Linked DNA regions of Homo sapiens: region 2 is linked to region 1. Evidence: promoter capture Hi-C in 16 types of primary human blood cells and fetal thymus (Javierre and others, 2016). All regions are on one chromosome and are shown on one strand. Each heading gives the region's core, a stretch centred on a gene start or on the middle of the fragment in contact. The rest is flanking DNA. Distances are from core to core; before and after follow the strand shown.

Evidence for each region. The method cuts DNA at HindIII sites, captures the fragments that hold promoters and counts their contacts. A CHiCAGO score of 5 or more calls a contact.
Region 2: a contact is called between a fragment that was not itself captured here and the fragment with the promoter of CREBL2 in region 1, in 1 of 17 cell types (total CD8 T cells). The highest score is 5.6, in total CD8 T cells.

What each region holds. Positions count from the first base shown.
Region 1 is chr12:12,609,502-12,616,318 of GRCh38, forward strand. It overlaps CREBL2 (cAMP responsive element binding protein like 2), which reads left to right and starts at 2,375. Exons shown (of 4, transcript NM_001310.4): 1 at 2,375-2,686. The coding sequence starts at 2,672. It also overlaps the pseudogene RPL21P136. RefSeq lists enhancers at 1,744-2,495, 2,089-2,168, 2,219-2,268 and a silencer at 2,429-2,728. The HindIII fragment of the contact is 19,687 bases long and covers 1-6,817 here.
Region 2 is chr12:12,323,827-12,330,643 of GRCh38, forward strand. It overlaps MANSC1 (MANSC domain containing 1), which reads right to left. Exons shown (of 4, transcript NM_018050.4): 4 at 2,230-6,817. The coding sequence ends at 6,201. Among named protein-coding and RNA genes, the nearest start is that of MANSC1, 23 kb to the right of the region's middle. RefSeq lists an enhancer at 1,481-1,981. The HindIII fragment of the contact is 859 bases long and covers 3,907-4,765 here.

The DNA of each region.
Region 1 (6,817 bases), core at 1,125-3,624:
CTGAGGCAGGAGAATGGCATGAACCTGGGAGGCAGAGGCTGTAATGAGCCGAGATTGCACCACTGCACTCCAGCCTGGGTGACAGAGCGAAACTCTGTCTCAAAAAAAAAAAAAAAAGTTGCATGGGACACACTTTCCTAAAAGAGTATTTGCGGTTTATCTGAAATTCGAATGTAATTGAGTATTCTGTGTCTATATTGCTAAATCTGAGAACTCTACCTCAGTTGGATTTTGCAAGGGTTGAGAAAGCACTTTGTGAGTCTTTGAAAAGGTGTGAGCCAAAGGGCTCTTCAGGAGCAGCATTGACAAATATGCAATCTTTGTCAAGTTCTCAAAGGCCCGAGGTAGGCCAAAACAAAAACAACAGTAAAAACAAGCTCACTGACTTTATTAAATGAGGACACAGCCAGTTATTTTTAAAATAACTTTATTGAGATATAATCCACTCATTTAAAGTGGTTTAACTACAGTTAAACTACAATTTAGTGGTTTTTAATATATTCACAGGATGTGCAACCATCACCAAAATCAATTTTAGATAATTTTCTTTTCTTCTTTTTTTTTTTTTTTTTTTTTGAGTCGGAGTTTCGCTCTTGTTGCTCAGGCTGGAGTGCAATGGCACGGTCTCAACTCACTGCAACCTCCGCCTCCTGGGTTTAAGCCATTCTCCTGCCTCAGCCTCCCACGTAGCTGGGATTACAGGTATGCTCTCCCAGGCCTGGCCAACTTTGTATTTTTAGTAGAGATGGGTTTCTCCATGTTGGTCAGGCTGGTCTCGAACTCCTGACCTCAGGTGATCAGCCCACCTCGGCCTCCCAAAGTGCTGGGATTACAGGCGTGAGCCACCATGCCCGGCTGAATTTTAGATCATTTTCATCACCTCAAAAAGAAACCCAGTACTCATTAACCGTCACTCTCCTTTCCAGGATCCCTCCATCCCTGCCATTCTTCAACCCTAGCCCTTGGCAACCACTAATGGATTTTTTGGTCTATTTAGATGTGCCTGTTCCAGACACTTCATTATAAATGGAATCATACAATATGTGGCCTATTGTGTCTGGCTTTTTTCACTTCACATAAAGTTTTCAAGGTTCAGACATATTGAAGTGTGTATATCCCTTCATTTTTTTTCATTGCTGAATAATATTTCTTTCCTTTTTTTTTGAGACAGAGTCTTGCTCTGTTGCCCAGGCTGGAGTGCCGTGATCACAGCTCACTTCAGCCTCCAACTCCAGGGCTCAAACGATCCTCCCACCTGGGCCTCCCGAGTGGCTAGGACTACAAGCACCACCACCACACCCAAGTAATTTTTAAATTTTTTGTAACACACCCAACTAATTTTTAATTTTTTTTGTAGAGACTGCATCTTACTATATGGGTCTTCTTCCTTCTTCTTTCTTCTTCCTTCTTCTCCTTCTTCTTCCTTCATCGTTCTTCTTCCTTCTTTCATTCTTCTTCTTCTTTTTTTTTTTTTTAAATACAGTGTCTGGCTCTGTCGCCCAGGCTGGAGTGCAGTGGTACAATCTTGGCTTATTGCAGCCTCTGCCTCCCAGGCCCAAGTGATCCTCTCATGTCAGCCTCCCCAGTAACTGGGATTACAGGCATGTGCCACCACACTCGACTAATTTTTGTATTTTTTTGTAGAGACAGGTTTTGCTATGTTGCCCAGGCTGGTCTCGAACTCTTGGGCTAAAGCAATCCTCCCGCCTCGGCCTCCCAACGTGCTGGGATTACAGGCGTGACCCACCACCCCTGGCCAGTATTTCTTAATTTGTATAGTCCACACTGGTTTATCCATTCATCCAGTAAAGGACATTTGCGTTGTTTCCACTTTTTGACTATTATGAATAATGCTGCTAGGAAAGAACATTTATATACAAGTTTTTGTGTAGTCACTCGTTTTAATTTCTCTTGGGTATGGGAGTGGCCAATATTCTGAAGAACTGCCAAATTTCTTCCCAAAGTAGCTGCACTATTTTACATACTTAGTTTTTGTTTTTCGTTTTTTTTTAAATAAAGAACCTTTAGGGTTTCCTCAGCGTCCCAGAGGAGGGCCTGCTTCCGGCACCCCGCCTTCAGGGCTGCCTCCGCAGAGCACCAAACTCCCGTCCCCGCCATTCCAGGCCCTGGCACTTAGGAGCCAAAACCTCAGGTCAGGCGCACTTTGGGCCTCCAGCCCAGCCCCGCCTCCTCAGCGCTAGCTAGTAGGCAAAAGGAAAACAGCTGCCCCTTAATGAGGCTATGTGGACATCGTAGTTTTTTTTCCAGTCAGTAGCGCAGAGACTGTGATAAGAAAAATCACAATTCCCAGAATGCCGCGGTGCTACGGCAGCCGAAGGGGCCATTCCGTGTGCAGCGCTCCCGCCCACCCTCCGGTCTCGGCGGCTCTCCAGAGCGTCTGTAAACACCCAGAGACTGTCATGGAGGGGGAGGAGGAGGCGGCGGCGGCGAAGGGAGGCGTTTGGGGCCGCCTCCAGGGTCCGCTCTGCCATTCCTGAACTGGTCCCTCGTCCCCGTGACTCTGGCATCAGGGAAGCGAACTGTTAGGCGAGAGGAGGAGGCAGCCAGAACCATATCCCCTTCTTCCTCGGGGCGGGGGCCGGGCCAGGCCGGCTGAGCCGGGGGAGGGCTCCGGGAGGGAGTGCCTGGCCAGGCCGGCCTGTCTGCCGCGATGGATGACAGTAAGGTAAGTCTTGTGGTTTGCACGCGCCGCCGCCTTCTTGTCGCTCAATGCTAGTCCCGCGGCTGAACCTCCGCTATGTAGTCCACGCCAACACCCAAGAGACACCTGCCTAAAACATCCCTGCGCCTCTCCAGTCCACTGCCCGATGGTACCCAGCCAGGAAATCAGGGAACACCGGGGCTGCGTTTTTCCAGGAAGGGCCCTCTCTGGAAATTTTTCACTCCCAGGGCGTTTGCTAGCTTTCCAGGTAGTGCAACCCCTAGTCCTTAACTTGCCTGTCGAGATAAGAAACTACTGTACTTTTTCTTCTTGCACTTTTTTGCTGCCTCCTCTCTCCAGTTTGGAGACTTTAGTGCACGCTGAACCAGCCTTATTCCCCTTGACGATTCCCCTTCTCTCAGGCTCCCTTACTCAATGCCCCATTCATATAATCAGTTCACTCCCCCTCTGAGCTATTTCCTGTGGTTGGTTGGAACACCGCTAAGCTCCTGTTGCTATTTGGCCAGTGTGGAGTTTAACCTCCACTAGAAAGCCTTCTCTAAAAAAATACTGATTTTCCTCTTGTTAACTTTAATAGCCCATCACCATCCAATTTCCCTGTCCAAATCACTTACTTTATGATTATAAAATAATAGATAATGTTCATTATTGGTTAATCCAAATAGTTTATCTATGTATAGCCTTTTTGTCTTTATTTATTAATTGAGACGGAGTTTCGCTCTTGTCGCCCAGGCTGGAGTGCAATGGCGCGATCTCGGCTCACCACAACCTCCGCCTCCCGGGTTCAAGCGATTCTCCTGCCTCAGCCTCCCGAGCAGCTGGGATTACAGGCATGCACCACCATGCCCGGCTAATTTTGTATTTTTGGTAGAGATGGGGTTTCTCCATGTTGGTCAGGCTGGTCTCGAACTCCCAATCTTAGGTGTCCGCTCGCCTCGGCCTCCCAAAGTGCTGGGATTACAGGCGTGAGCCACCGCGCCTGGCCGCCTTTCTCTCTTTACATCTACCCACATTAGTGTTGTTTAGTTTTATTTCCTGAAGATAGGGATGGTCAAAGATTTGTTTATTGATGTTTCAGGTTGTTTTGGATTTGGACTTTTTTATTTTAAGGAATCAGACTTCTAAAATTTGCCAGTTTTTAAAGTAAAAACCGTCCTTCTTTGTGCTTCTCAGCGTCTTCTGTTTCACAGTCTTTGGCATACTCTTTACGATAGCTTTGTCCTTTGTTTGGGTGTCTTTTTTTGCTGCTGCTGCAGTTTTTGTTTCACATATCCTCAGAGAGATTCAAAAAATTTCCAACTTCTCTGTGTTCCTTGTTTTATTCTTTCCTTCTTGTTTTCTCTTCCTCTTCATGTAGAAGGCTGTGAGGAAGTGACAGATGGAAGGGAAAGCCCAGTGCAGTACTCTGGAATTGTTACTCACCTAGAGGAACGGATTGCTTGTGAAGTAGTAAACCCCTCTTAATAGGAAGTGGTATTTCCAAGACAGAAGGGGGGCGAGTTTCAGGAAGCTATCAGCTCATAAGAGTGCTTAATATGCTCAGTACACACATTAATTCCCTTGACAAGAATCTTGCCCTTGTTTGTTTACAACAATGCAACAGAATGCGGGATAACATTGTAGACTCTTCAGTTTTACTATAGTAACATTCGTGGGGTATGATATTGGGGAAGTGGTATTTCCAAGACAGAAGGGTAGCGTTCTAAAAGTTTTCCAGAAAAATCAGCAAGTAATTTTTTTTTTTTTTTGCTTTGAATATTTCTTTGGGGAGGGGACATCACACTTCTTTCTTTTTTCTTTTTTTTCTTTTTTTTTTTTTTTTTTTTGAGACGGAGTCTCCGCTGTATCGCCCAGGCTGGAGTACAGTGGCACGATCTCGGCTCACTGCCGAGAATTGCTCTTGGGTTCAAGCAATTCTCCTGCCTCAGCCTCCTGAGTAGCTGGGACTACAGGCGTGTGCCACCACATCCAGCTAAATTTTTATTTTTCGTAGAGACAGGGTTTCACCATGTTGATCAGGCTGGTCTCAAACTCGAGTGACCTCAGGTGATCCGCCCACCTCAGCCTCCCAAAGTGCTAGGAATACAGGTGTGAGCCACTGCGCCCGGCCAGGACATCACACTTCTACTCAATGAAGATAAACGTTTTTACACCTTTTGTCTTTTTTACCCCTATTATGCCACGAATTCATAGGGAATAAGTTCTAGTAGCTCAGGCTGTTTTCCACTGGTGGAGTAGGCTGGTGCTTCAATTGAACCCAGGTACCTTTCTTATTTAGTTTCCTTTTTTTTTTTTTTTTTTGAAATAGGGTCTTGCACTGTTGCCCAGGCTGGGGTGCGTTGGTGTGATCACAACTCACTGCAGCCTCGAACTCCTGGGCTCAAAGCAATCCTCCACCTCAGCCTCCCAAGTGGCTGGGACTACAGGAATGCACATCCATTCCTAGCTAATTTTTTGCAGAGATGAGGGTCTCACTGGCTTTTTTTTCTGATCATTTTCCTTCACACGTTTCTGGAAGCTGTCAGCTCTTAAGAGTACTTAATATGCTCAATATACACATTAATTCTCTTGGCAAGAATCTTTCCCTTTTTTGTTTACAACAATGCCAACAGAATGCTGGGTAACATTGTAGACTCTTCCAGTTTTGCCATAGTAAGATTTGTAGGGCATTAGTTTTTTTTTTTTTTTTTTGAGATGGAGTCTCTCTCTGTCCCCCAGGCTGGAGTGCAGTGGCACGATCTCAGCTCACTGCAATCTCTACCTCCTGGATTTAAGCGATTCTCCAGCCCCAGTCTCCCGAGTAGGTGTGATTACAGGCATGGGCCACCATGTCCGGCTAATTTTTTTTTGAGACAGGGTCTTGCTCAGTCGCCCAGGCTTGATGCAGTGGTGCAGTCTTGGCTCACTATAAACTCCGCCTCCCGGGTTCAAGTGATTCTCCTGCGTCAGCCTCCTGAGTAGCTGGGATTACAGGTGCATGCCACCACAACCGATTAATTTTTGTATTTTTCTTAGAGATAGGGTTTATTAGAGCCTGCCATGTTGGCCAGGCTGACAGGGTTTTGCCATGTTGGCCAGGCTGGTCTCGAACTCCTGGCCTCAAGTGATCCGCCCACCTCGGCCTCCCAGAGTGCTGAGATTACAGGCATGAGCACTGCACCTGGCCAACTTTTTGCATTTTTTTTTTTTTTTAACAGAGACAGGGTTTCATCATGTTGGCCAGGCTGGTCTGGAACTCCTGACCTCAGGTGATCTGTGTAAGGTATTCCCTTTTAAACAGTCCCCATTCCATTGATGTCTAAAATATCAACCTTCTTTTTTTTTTTTTCTTTGAGACGGAGTCTTGCTCTGTCACCAGGTTGTAGTGCAATGGTGCGATCTTGGCTCACTGCAACCTCTGACTCCCTGGTTCAAGCAATTCTCCTGTCTCAGCCTCTGAGTGGGGATTACAGGTGTGTGCCACCATGCCCAGCTAATTTTTGTATTTTTAGTAGAGCTGGGGCTTCACTAGGTTGGCCAGGATGGTCTCAGTCTCCTGACCTCCTGATCCGCCCACCTCGGCCTCCCAAAGTGCTGGGATTACAGGCATGAGCCACCGCACCTGGCTACAATATCACCTTTCTTGTAGGTTTCCATGTATGTGGCCGAAGGAACAACTCCATGTGTTCTAAAAGGCCTGGAGAACATCTGTTGGTGCCTTTTCTCTTTGCCTTTGTGTTAATCATTTTGGTGAATTACTGGAAGATGGCAGTTCCAGCCAAAAGGCAGAAATAATATTTCATAAAAGTCTTTGGTAGCTTGATCTTTCAGTGTTAATTTTGAAATTAAATATTAACACTGTATCTATTATCTTGATGAGAAAATAATACTAATGTTATGGGTATTTAAGGATGGTAGAAGAACATACTGTTCTTTATTTTTCCTAACTTGAGATTCAGAATATATTCTTTCTGATTTTCAGTTTTTTCCTTTTCAGACCTTTGAAACATTTAACAACTTTCTGAAAGTCTTCAATAATTTCAAATAAGTCGAAGAAAAATACATAGGATTTTGGGCTACTTAGCTGTAAGATCATATAAAAGTTATTTCTAAAACTAGCAATCTGGTGGGGTGAAGGAAGGTTCAAAATGTCAT
Region 2 (6,817 bases), core at 3,086-5,585, 280 kb before region 1:
GAGACTCTGGTGGAGGTGACGTGTGATCGTGGTCTTGAAGGATGAGCGGAAATTTGCCAAGTGAACAAGGGGGAAAGGAATTTACAAGTAGAGGGAAGAGGATGGCTCGTCAAAGTGTCTGGCAATACTGAGAAATGTTGAAAAGGGTGGTGTAGCTACAGCCCAGGTTTCACGGGACAGAGGTAGCTGCAGTGTGGTTAGGTTGGGGCTAGTGCATGGGGAGCCTTGGTACACCTGCCACGTGCAACTGGTAATCATCCCTAGAGGTACTGGGAGCACAGAGTGTCATGCGTGGAGTTACATGTACTGTGTGCTGTGCTTTTAATGTAACTTGAAGTCGTAAGGAGGGAATATATGATGTGGGAGCAGAGCAAGGAGAAGCAAGTTAGGGAGACCAAACAGGAGGCAGCAGTGGGGACGGCTGACTTTGAGAGGCGTCTTTGAAAGACAATAGGTAATATTTGGTAGACATTGGATGTGGAGGCTGAGGCAGCAGGAGAAACAGAGTATGACTTTGAAGTTGCTCAATACAGGAGATACTGGGTGGCTGGCGGTACTATTAACCCAGATGACAGGACACGGAAACAGGATGGGTTCTCTGCTCCGGCGTGTCCCTGAGGAGTCACTCTTAACTTTGGTACAGGTGATCAGCAACTGGGAAAGTGTATGAAGCCCACTCCAGAATGAGACCACTGACCTCTTCATTTCCATGCTTTCGGCTCAAGGTATCATTCGGCTCAACACCATTTAAAAGCTATCTAGGCTGGGTGTAGTGGCTCACACCTGTAATCCCAGCACTTTGGGAGGCCGAGGCGGGTGGATCACTTGAGGTCAGGAGTTCAAGACCAGCCTGGCCAACATGGTGAAACCCCATCTCTACAAAAAAATTAAAAAATTAGCTGGGTGTGGTGGTGGGTGCCTGTAATCCCAGCTACTTGGGAGTCTGAGGCAGGAGAATTGCTTGAACCCGGGAGGCAGAGGTTGCAGTGAGCTGAGATCGTGCCACTGCACTCCAGCCTGGGTGACAGAGCAAGATGCCGTCTAAAAACCAAAATAAAAAGCTATCTAGGGGCAGGCTTATGCCTGTAATCTCGACACTTTGGGAGGCTGAGGCGGGCAGATCACCTGAGGTCTGGAGTTCAAGACCAGCCTGGCCAACATGGTGAAACCCCATCTCCTTTACTAAAAATACAAAATTAGCTGGCCATGGTAGTGCACACCCATAATCCCAGCTACTCAGGAGGCTGAGGCAGGAGAATCGCTTGAACCCAGGAGCAGAGGTTGCAATGAGCCAAGATCATGCCATTGCACTCCAGCCTGGGCGACAAGAGAAAACTCTGTCTCTAAATAAATAAATAAAAATAAAAGCTATTTAGGGCCAGGCATGGTGGCTCATGCCTGTAATCCCAGCACTTCAGAAGGCTGAAATGGGCAGATTGCTTGAGTCCAGGGGTTTGAGACCAGCCTGGCCAACATGGCAAAACCCTGTATCTACAAAAATACAAAAATTAGCTGGGCGTGGTGGCACATGCCTGTAGTCCCAGCTACTTGGGGGGCTGAGGCAGGAGGATTACTTGAGCCCGAGAGTTGGAGGCTGCAGTAAGCTGTGTTTGCGCCACTACACTCCAGCCTGGGTGACAAAGCAAAATTGTCTCAAACAACAACAACAAAAACAACAACAAAAAGCTTTCTAGAACATTTCCAATCTAGTGCAAACCTCTTTTTGGTTACACCGTGTATCATTCCAGTTATAAGAATGTAAAAAGTGGCAACTCCGGAGCCAGGCTATCTGGGCAAGTGACCTCTGGAAAGGCCCTTAAACTTCGCTGTGTCTCAGTTTCCTTATCTACAGAATAAGGATTAAAATTATTCAAAAGGTTGTTGTGGAATTGAAATGAGTTAGTATATGTAAAAGTGAATCTGGCGCATAGTGTAAGTACTTTCTTTTGTGGAGTCTTGCTCTGTCGCTCAGGCTGGAGTGCAGGGGTGCAATCTTGGCTCACTACAAACTCTGCCCCCGCCACGCCCAGCTAATTTTTGTATTTTTAGTAGAGATGGGGTTTCGTCATGTTGGCCAGGCTGGTTTCGAACTCCTGACCTCAGGTGATCCACCCGCCTCGGCCTCCCAAAGTGCTGGGATTACAGGCGTGAGCCACTGTGCCCGGCCCATAGTGTAAGTACTTTCTAAGTGTTTGCTATCAATAAGTAATAAATCATAGAATACTCGACTGAAAGTGGTACAAATATTAGAGATTTATTATTACAGAACAAGATGGAAGTTGGCAGTTCCAGGGTTTGTCCTGTCAATTAACCAAGGCATCCCGGAGACTGGACTCTTCCTGTACCCACTGCCACGCTCAGTGTGGCAGTGCCTTCTCCCCTCATCATGGCAGGGAGGCCACCACAGCTCCAACAACCAAGTCTTCACATGGTCAGCATCCCAAGCATGAAATAAGGGGATGTGGTTAGAAAGGGCTTTTCTCCTTGTGCAGCCTTCCCTTTACAAGCAAGAAAATCTCTCCTAGAAGTCCCTAGTAGGTTTCCTTTCAGCTAAAACTTGGGTCACAGGCCCATCCCTGAACCTGGCACTTCCAACCTGTAACAAATGAGGCAGAAGTGGGACTAGGGCTGGCTGCTGGGCAGCTGACCGGTAGTGCCCACCACAGTCTGGGAGCCAAAGAGTTCCAAAAGTTCCTCACTCAGGCCAGGGGTAATTGAGAAACAGGCACATAACAGTATTCATCCAGGAGTCCTCAGGTTTTTTAAGAGTTTTTTAGTTTTTTTTTTGTTGTTGTTGTTTTGTTTTTTTTTTTGAGATGGGCTCTCGTTCTGTCGCCCAGGCTGGAGTGCAGTGGCGTGATCATGGCTCACTGCAGCCTCGACCTCCTGGGCTCAAGTGATCCTCCCACCTCAGTCTCCCAAAGGGCTGAGATTACAGATGTGAGCCACTATGTGCCTGGCTAAGAGTAGCTTATTTTTATTTTATTTTATTTTATTTTTTTGAGATAGAGTCTTGCTCTGTCGCCTAGGCTGGAGTGCAATGGAGCGATCTTGGCTCACTGCAACCGCCCCCTCCCGGCCTCAAGCAATTATCCTACCTCAGCCTCCCAAGTAGCTGGGATTACAGGTGTCTGCCACCATGCCTGGCTAATTTTTGTATTTCTGTAGAGATGGGGTTTCACCATGTTGGCCAGGCTGGTCTAGAACTCCTGACCTCAGGTGATCCACCCACCTTGGACTCCCAAAGTGCTGGGATTACAGGCGTGAGCCACCACGCCTGGCCAAGAGTAGCTTTTTAACCTAGGTCAGTATCGTGTTGGTAAAATACGGAGAGAGGATGTTTGAGCAGAAGGACCTACCTCATCTTCTCACCTGTTCTAGGCTGCTACCTTCTCTTTCTACAAACCAAAGGAGGGGGCTCATAACTCAATGGGCCTTGTGGGAAAGGCTAACCAGACTAGTCACTGCTGAATTCCTCTAAGGGATTCCCCTACCCTGACTGCCCTTGCCACAGTTGCACCCACCATCCTAGGGGCAGTAAGTAGAGAGAGCTGTGTGAGAAGAGCACTCTTTCCACTCCAGATGTCCCCTACAACCTATATCCTCACGGCCACTAACAGTTTGGGCCCGTAGCATCACTCATCTGGACCGCTCCCATGTGGTCTCCCCATCACAACAAAGACTGCAGCAAGGTGGACAGAGAACTCCAAGAGAGCCAGGAAAATACCTTTATAAACCATCACAGAAAGCCTGATTTCCACTCGCTAAATCCATTAATAAAGAGAGGAGAAATTTTAAAATTCCAAGGCACCTGGTTACTAATCTGATTCTGGCCTACATGTGGATATTCAATAAATACTTGTTAAGTTAAATTGACTCAAGGTTTTATTTATTCAGCCTACTTAAAGCTTATGTAAACCCCTTGGAGATTTGTGTCAAGCTGTTAAGTTGGAAAATATAAGAAAAGTAGTATTTTCAATAGACCAGCTTTCCTCTTAATGTACTTTATGAACTTAGTGTAAACCAGGGAAATGGGGGAGGGGTACCAGAAGAGCAGAGGGGAAGGAGGTGAGGAGGAAGGAAGAGGTGAGGAGGAAGGAGAAGAAAAGCCTTTTCTGTCATTTCCTGCATTTGTCTTAATTGCTGTACTTATTAACCAGCTACTGCCCTCTAGTGCTCACTGTATTAAGTTCGCATCTGAATTCCATTTTTATCTTTAAAAACTCTGGTGACACTTGGAAGGGATCAAATTTCCTGTTTTGCAGATAAGCAAATTGAAGTCCAGAGGAAAGAGGTATCAAACTGACCCAGGGGACTTCTGGACTCTTTGTTACCTCACCTATAACTTGTCTGGAAAACTTTATTAAAAGCCTTTCTCAGAAATTTTAATTGGTAACCAGTAAAAATTGTAGCATCATGTTAGTGCTAGTTATTATTATTATTATTTTTGAGACGGAGTCTGGCTCTGTTGCCCAGGCTGGAGCGCAATGGTGCAATCTGGCTCACCGCAACCTCCGCCTCCTGGATTCAAACTACTCTCCTGCCTCAGCCTCCCAAGTAGCTGGAACTACAGGCGCCCGCCACCACGCCCGGCTAATTTTTTGTATTTTTAGTAGAGGCGGGGTTTCACCGTGTTAGCCAGGATGGTCTCGATCTCCTGACCTCGTGATTTGCCCATCTCGGCCTCCCAAAGTGCTGGGATTACAGGCGTGAGCCACCGCGCCTGGCCTGTGCTAGTTATTATTTCCAATGTTGTTCTAAATTAAGCTTAGACTGATTGCTGGTCAATTTAAGTAAGGATATAAAATAATAGTGGTACATTTTTAACTTAGTACAAGTTTAGAAAATGTCTATAATACTTCTTTAAAAAGTTAACTAGAGGCCGGGCACGGTGGCTCACGCCTGTAATCCCAGCACTTTGGGAGGCCGAGGCGGGCGGATCACAAGGTCAGGAGATCGAGACCATCCTGACTAACACAGTGAAACCCCGTCTTTACTAAAAATATAAAAAATTAGCTGGGCGTGTTGGCGGGCGCCTGTAGTCCCAGCTACTTGGGAGGCTGAGGCAGGAGAATGGCGGGAACCCAGGAGGCGGAGCTGGCAGTGAGCCGAGATCGCGCCACTGCACTCTAGCCTGGGTGACAGAGCAAGACTCTGTCACACACACACACACACACACACACACACACACACACACACAAGTTAACTAGAACAGATCCCAAGTGGATATGGCCATTTATCAGAACTGACTTATCATTGTCTCCATGTGGGCTAACATTCCGCTAGATTCTCCCAAGTGAAGCTCTTTGCTCACTGATGGGAAAAAGGGGGGGTTGTCATTTTAACGTGGAACGCATATTTTCACCACATAATCATTTTGCTAGTGGAAATAAATGGAAAGTTATCCAGCTGGACATGCTACTTATGAGAACACTACTGAGTAACAAAAGATTTATTCAAATATTTAATTGGAAGGAACTACATCTGGAATAAGTTTTAAAGGAATCCATATAAAAAGAAAAGCAAATCCATTAGAAATTGATATAAACAGTTGATTTTATCTGGAACCAAGAATGTGAATGAATTGGAACCTAGATGTCCTAACCTGTTTCTTTGCATAAAAGCCAGTTGAATTTTGAAATTTATATGGCAATTATACTTTATTACTTTACATAGAGCTTTGTTTTTAGCTAATATTTTAGAGACAGATTACCCAAAATTACCTAATTTGGTTCCCACTTCATTCCTTCTCAAAAACCAAACATAAAACAGAAGGGGGCCAGCTGTGGTGGCTCATGCCTGTAATCCCAGCACTTTGGGAGGCCGAGGAGGGTGGATCACTAGGTCAGGAGTTTGAGACCAGCCTGACCAACATGGTGAAACCCCGTCTCTACTAAAAATACAAAAATCACCCAGGTGTGGTGGCACATGCCTGTAATCCCAGATACTTAGGAGGCTGAGGCAGGAGAATCGCTTGAACCCAGGAGACGGAGGTTGCGGTGAGAGCCGAGATCGTGCTACTGCACTCCAGCCTGGGCAACAAAGCAAGACTCTGTCTCCAAAAAAAAAAAAGGAAAGCAGAAGGGGGCATTTTCCTGTCTTCAAAATACAACCTCCTGCTAAGACTAGCAAGTCAGCAGAAACTCATTGCATTTGGGCTTCTGGTTACTAAATGAATTAAGAGACACCGAGTTCCATCCTTAGATGTCCACATAGATCCCATTGATCAAATAATCCAGTCTTGAGTAACGTTTCCTGCGGAGTGATTCCGAGAGGATTCTACCCAGGAGGACGAGGCCTATCACCAGGAACAGGACACCAAAGAGCAGGGACCCGATAAGAAGCCATTTTTCAAATGGAAGGCCGTACTGATTTTCTGGAACACTGCCCTGGGAGGAACTGCCTGGACTGGCCTCCCTACCTTCCCAGGAAGCAGTTTTATTCATAGTGGAAGACTCCACATTTGACATAGAAAGTGCAGTAGGGTTATACACATTCCCTGTGTTCAAAGTTAGGTTGGAGATTTCTGTAAACGGTATGGTTTCTAAGCTGCCTTTCGAGTCCGTAGGTGCCTGAAAGGTGGTAGTCAGAACTGCTGTTGTAGCCATTGCTTGGAGTGTAGCCGCAGCCCGTGTAAAAACTGTAGAAATGAGGGTCGTGGGAGGCTGAGAAGTGACAGTGGTTACAGGTGGAGCTGTGGTGGCCAGCTGTGGCTGGGAAGTCCCAGAAGGTGTCACTGAAGCATTGGTGGGTAGAAGGGTGGCGGGCTTTGGAGTAGCCGAGGTGGTATGTGGAGAAGCAACTGCCACCGTAGCTG